Linked DNA regions of Homo sapiens: region 1 is linked to region 2. Evidence: promoter capture Hi-C in 16 types of primary human blood cells and fetal thymus (Javierre and others, 2016). All regions are on one chromosome and are shown on one strand. The core of a region is centred on a gene start or on the middle of the fragment in contact, and the rest is flanking DNA. Distances in the headings are between cores, read along the strand shown.

Region 1 (3,139 bases), core at 135-2,634, 790 kb before region 2:
TTCAGTTTCCAACCACGGCCTCCTATTGGCCAAACCCAACCAGAAGCCAGCGAGCAAGGGGCTACTGATGAAGCACATATAGCTCAGCCTCCAGAGACACAGAACAGGATAAAAGGCTGAGACAGTGGGTCTGGTGGGGCAAAGAGAAAGCTTGCACCTGCCAGGTAAAGCATTATAGTCCCCATCCTCCCCCCACCACCTTAGTTCTTGTGCATTTCCCATCAGTTTTCTTCCAAAGCATTTCAGATCTCACTGATTTGAATGGGACCTCTTCTTCTATTACCAATTTGGATCAGTAATTATTTATGTATGAGAAAACTATTGATTTTTACATATCGTTGCATAGCAGAGTGGTTTAATAAGGAGACATTTGGTTTTTACTGCCTGTGTGGGTATCACTTGCTATGTGACTTGAGGCAAATCCAATATTTCTTCTGTTATAAATTCCAGTATTTGTAAAAAATGGGTAATAAGATCTCTATTTTATATAGTTTTAGTATTTAATGAGATAATACATATAAAGTCATTAAAACAGTGTCTGGCTCATAAAAAACCCTCAATAAATGTCACTTATTACTGTATCTGGTTTTTGAGCTGCTCTATTGCACCATTGAGTTTTCAGCCCAGTATATGTTAACCCTGATCATTATCTGCAGAAGTCCCCGTGCCACACTCTACATCATCCAAATTCTCTCCAGGTGGACTAAGTAGATTAAAGAACTTTAAACATAACTACCATATTTTGGCTCTATCTACAAAATGTCCAATAATCAGTTAAGAAAGGAACAATTCTCTTGGGGCCCACACTTTGAGAAGCAAATGCAGCTGAACTTTTTTAGAGGAAAGTGAGTGAACCAACTGGTAGCTTTGCCACTGCTTAAAAACCAGCATCCTTTCCAGCTGGGTCTAAGACAGAATAAGGTAAATTTAGATATGTCTCTAATATATCTATAGAACAGTGGTTCTCAACCCGGGGTGTTTTTGCCCCTTAGGGGATAATTTGCAATGTCTGGAGACATCTGTGATTGTCATAACTGGAAGGGGGCAGTGCTATTGGCATCTAGTGGGTATAGAGCAAGGGTGCTACCAAATATCCTATGGTGCAACAGAGAATTATCTGGTCAAAAATGTAAATAGTGCTGAGGGTGAGAAACCCTGCTATAAAAACGAAAGAAATTTGGTCTACAGAGTTGTTTGGATTTAGACAAGACGTTGCCCCAATAGTGGTGATAGAAATAAGAGGAACCCCGTGCTTTTGCAAAGCCCATATCTGGGGTGGCTTAAATAATCATGCTCCTCCCCATCCCCCGACCTGATCTTTGTAGTTGGAAACTCCAGGGCTGGCTGCCTGTAGTCTTTGTGACTACACTTCCTGCCTCCCATCACTTCATCTCAGAAGACTCCAGATATAGGATCACTCCATGCCATCAAGAAAGGTATTTTAAACATTGGAACACATATAGATAATTTAAGTAGGTAGATGTATGTGCTGTTATAAGGAAGTGGGGAGGAGAGAAGAGGGAACCGAAATCATATGCACAAAAATTTTTTTTAGAATATAAATAAAAAATGTGGTAGTCTAAAATGTCAATTCTTCAAAGATAAAGTTAGGCTTTCAGTAACGTTAGAAATGGTTTTCTGGAATATGTCTCCAGTCTACCTAACTTTGAGGAAGTAAATACTGTAAATAGATGTTTCAAACGCATTTTAAAGCAATGATCCTAGCATGTCTTTAAGCTACAGTATTGTGCTGTCTTTGAAATGTAAACTTTGATGTCTTCTCTTTCTCTTAGTTGATGCTATTGGGCCCATCTCAAGCTGATCTTGGCACCTCTCATGCTCTGCTCTCTTCAACCAGACCTCTACATTCCATTTTGGAAGAAGACTAAAAATGGTAAGAACAGCTCAGAGAACCTTAAAAAGTGTTATCTGTAATCTTTGTGGAAACAACTGAAACCAGCTGGCAAGAGCAATATTGAAGAATCTGTACTTAGGTTATTTGCTGGGGGAAAGTGCTTCCTGATATTTCACAATTGGCATTAATGAAGGGGGCATGTCACAATTTCAGATTAATCAACGCTTGCTCTGTTCAACTTCCTACAAGAATTAAATATGTGCTGTGGGGAGGAGGAGCAGATGTTTGAATTGGGGACATAGCTTCTATGTATCTCATTTCTTCAGCCTACAATTTTGGCTTTAAAGCCATAACAAATCACTGAATTACTGAAGTTACTTTGTGCTTTTTCCAGCATATGGTGTTGTCTTAATGACTGTGTGGATGAAAGTGTGTGGGCAGGCTCATAGCAATAAAATACGGGAAATCCCCGGGCTTGAGTGCTGTCAAAGAAAACTAAATTTGGACAGTAGATAAAGATACTATCAGGACTATTGCAATCGGCAGAAAGAGACCTCAGTATAGAAAGGGGCTCAATTCCAAATACAGCCAAAGACCAGTAAAGATTTCTGGCCAAGGAGTAGAGTGGGGGTCAGTGGATGGAAAATTACTAAGAGGAAACATCAAGGGTAAAAGGATTCTGGCTAAACCGACCTGACAGGATTCTTGCTGAAGACAGGCCAGGGTGATCAGACCTCACCTGTGGATGGTGGGAGATGAGGAATTTGATCAGATATTGAGGGTGATCACATACCAAGAGGAGTGGATTATCAATAAAATGACTTAGCAGGATTCCTGCTTGAACTGGGCAATGCAAAGATGGACATGAAGCCAAAGGCCGAAGCCTAGGGGTGTAGTAGAGCCTGATTAAGTTGAATTAAGGAGAGTCTTTGTCAGCGCTGGCTCTCCCAGTCACTAGTTGGGGGGGCCTTGTGCCTGTCATCAAAGTCCTCTGAAACTCAATTTCTCTGACTATGAAATAGGCATTAGAATCCCTCCCCTGTTGCCTTCCAGGGCCACTGTGAGGCTCAAATAATAGACTATTTTTCAAGTCCTTTGCAAGTGGTATGATGCAAGTGTGAGTTATTAGGTATGCCAAAACTTAGTCGGAAAAAGACGTCAAGGGCCTTTTTCTGAAATTATTTTGTCACTTAAATCAGACACATTCTAGATCCGAATGTTAGCTCCTAGGCTCATTTTGTGTCAAAGTTCTAATGAAGCATTAACCATGGGGCTATTGTTACA
Region 2 (2,929 bases), core at 383-2,882:
AAAGCCTTGATAAATCAGTTTAGCCAAAAGCAACCACCCTCAATATCTGATCACCCTTAATATCTGATTTGGTTCCTCATCCTCCACCAACCTCCAGGTGACATCTGATCACCCTGGCCCGTCTTCAGCAAGAATCTTGTCAGGTTGGTTTAGACAGAATCCCCCTTACCCCTGATGTTTCCTCTTAATAATTTTCCATCCACTGACCCCCCTACCTTGCTCCTTGGCTATAAATTCTCACTTTTCCATGCTACAATTGAAGTTGAGCCCAATCTCTCTTCCCCACTGCAAGACCCTGTTGCAGTGGTACCTATGTCTATCTCAATGGTCCTGAATAAAGTCTTCCTTACCATGCTTTAACAAGTGACAAGTGTCATTAAATAATTTTTTTTTTTTGAGACCAAGTCTTGCTCTGTCGCTAGGCTGGAGTGCAATGGCTCGATCTCAGCTCACTGCAACCTCCGCCTCCCGGGTTCAAGCGATTCTCCTGCCTCAGCCTCCCAAGTAGCTGGGATTACAAGCACGTGCCACCACGCCTGGCTAATTTTTTGTATTTTTAGTAGAGACGGGGTTTCACCGTGTTAGCCAGGATGGTCTCGATCTCCTGACCTCATGATCCGCCTGCCTCGACCTCCCAAAGTGCTGGGATTACAGGCATGAGCCACCACGCCCAGCCAAATAATTTTTTCTTTAAAAAGGTATTATATAATCCTTAAACATTTTAGCCCTATAATAGACAGCAAGAAAAAAGTAACCCCTGACAGCTCTGAGCTGCCCCGGCAGTCACAGCTGGGCCTTGGTGCTGCGTGGAACATAAATACTTCACAGAACACCATCAGACGTGGCCACTCTTTGACCAGATGGATCAAGACAAAAACAAGACTCCTTCGTAATCACGTGGGAATGCTGAAAAAACGTAAACATTGTCCAAACCACAAAAATGACCAAACATCCCCTATCCCAGTTAATGAGTCACTGGTCTTGTCTCCCCTCCTTTTAGGTAAGATTTATTATGATACTTAATCATACAATCGCCCTCCTTCCTGCCAGCACCCAGTCCAGAGTATTGGATTGGATACTCTGTTTCCCTGAACCTTTCCCCAAATTACCTTGGGGTAAGGCATCAGCAAAGGAGGCTGTCACATTCGTTCAACCATCACTGTGCTTTTACTGGCCCTTTGCAGGCAAAGAATGAGAATATGCACAGATGAGAAGTCCAGGATGCACAAGACCACTCAATTAACATTTACTACTTTCATATCAACTGATGCATGCTAGGATGCTAAAAACACTTTTTGAATTAATTACTGCGTTAAATAGATTCACATTTATGTCTACAGTTATGTGAACATCTAGCTGAGCACTGTCTTGACTGTCCTGAGTAGAAGCAGAAAAGATAAGTTGTAAAGTACATCAACAAACTTTGCTGCTAAAAAACGAAAGTGCAGTTTCTTTCTCTCGGGCCCGGGGCGGGGCCATGGCTCCTCCTCTAGGAAGCCGCGCGAGCGCAGTCCCACGGCAGCCATTTCCCTAGCGCGCATGCACTGGGTCCCAGGACCACGTGCGCCGGCCTGTGGGCTTGGATTGGCTGAGCCTTGACGTTGTCCCAGTCCCGGTGATCGGAAGTTCTCCGTGGGCACTGGGCGGCTGAAGGCTCCGGAACTGCGCCTGCGCTTTTCGGTGAGTCATGCTTCAGGTTTGCCAGGGCCTGTGTCCCGCAAAAAGGCGAGCCCTTATTCCCAGCGGAAGCCCACCCCGGCTCGCGGCAGCTTTCCGGTGCGCCCTGGGCGGCGTAGATCCGAAGGTGCTCGCACCCCCGCCCCTTCCTCTCCGACTGTCGAGGTCGCCAGAGTGGGCTGAACCCTCGGGACTGTCGCTGTTTGTGTGCTGGGTGCCGGGCCGTCATCCCAAGATGATTAGCGGCAGGCTTTGCATGTTGCTCGACCCCACCCACCGGAACTCGAACCCGGGCTAGACCGGGCAGTTGGGCTGGTCCCTTCCTCTCGCTGCACCTTTACTAGGGGTCACCATTAAGGGAAATGGTCCTAGTGCAGTGCTGAGTGGCTGTTCAGTAACCGCTACACCGCTGCCAACATTTGGCATCGTTTCTCTCCATAGAGGGCGGGGCTCCCTGTGAAGCTGGGGAGCTGTTAAGTGGGTTAGGGCTAGAAAGTTACAGTTTCTCTTTAGGCTTTAAAGAGATCTAAAGATCTGAACAGATCTAGGTTATTTTTGACTTGTTACAAACTTCTGGAAACATTGTTTCCAGACCTTTCCTCTCGTTCTTCTCAGGGTTTAGGCCATTTTTGTGCAGATGTGTGCACCTTGCTTACTATAATATTAGCTAATCTTTATAAGTTTTTATATGGATCCAATACCATATTTCGTGCCTACTTTTCCTGGCACTGTATACACTTTTTGGTATAGGTATGCACCTAAGCAAGCATTATCCATATTAGCATCAGTTCTAGAACCGTGGCGTCCCAATAATGATAGCCATTAGTTACATAAGGCTTGATCACTTGAAATGTGGCTAGTCCGAATTGAGATGTGCTGTAAGTGTAAGACACAGTGAATTTTCGAGAATTAGCATGAAAAAGAATGTAAAATATCTCAATTTGTTTATATTAATCACATGTTGAAATGACTATTCTGGATACACTGGGTTAAATAAAATGTATAATTAATTTCACCAATTTTTATTTTTTAACATGACTACTGGAAAATTTTAAATCATATTTGTGGTTTACATGTTATATATATGTTGCACAGCCCTGCTCTAGAAAAGGGTCAACAAACTATGGCCTGCAGCCAAATCCAGCCTGCCTGTTTTTGTAAACAAGTGTTACCAGAGCAAGATCATGCCTATCCATTTATGTTATTTTCTGTATCTGCTGTTGCTGCTACAATAGCAGCAGAGTTGAGTAGT

Evidence for each region. The method cuts DNA at HindIII sites, captures the fragments that hold promoters and counts their contacts. A CHiCAGO score of 5 or more calls a contact.
Region 1: a contact is called between the fragment with the promoter of TLR7 here and the fragment with the promoter of TCEANC in region 2, in 1 of 17 cell types (monocytes). The highest score is 5.6, in monocytes.

What each region holds. Positions count from the first base shown.
Region 1 is chrX:12,865,688-12,868,826 of GRCh38, forward strand. It overlaps TLR7 (toll like receptor 7), which reads left to right and starts at 1,385. Exons shown (of 3, transcript NM_016562.4): 1 at 1,385-1,436; 2 at 1,794-1,894. The coding sequence starts at 1,892. RefSeq lists enhancers at 2,223-2,292, 2,313-2,432. The HindIII fragment of the contact is 8,610 bases long and covers 149-3,139 here.
Region 2 is chrX:13,651,509-13,654,437 of GRCh38, forward strand. TCEANC (transcription elongation factor A N-terminal and central domain containing) reads left to right here and starts at 1,633. Exons shown (of 5, transcript NM_001297563.2): 1 at 1,633-1,680. LOC107985657 (a long non-coding RNA gene) reads right to left here and starts at 1,931. Exons shown (of 1, transcript NR_171573.1): 1 at 989-1,931. RefSeq lists enhancers at 1,316-1,505, 1,766-1,855 and a silencer at 1,434-1,745. The HindIII fragment of the contact is 12,822 bases long and covers 1-2,929 here.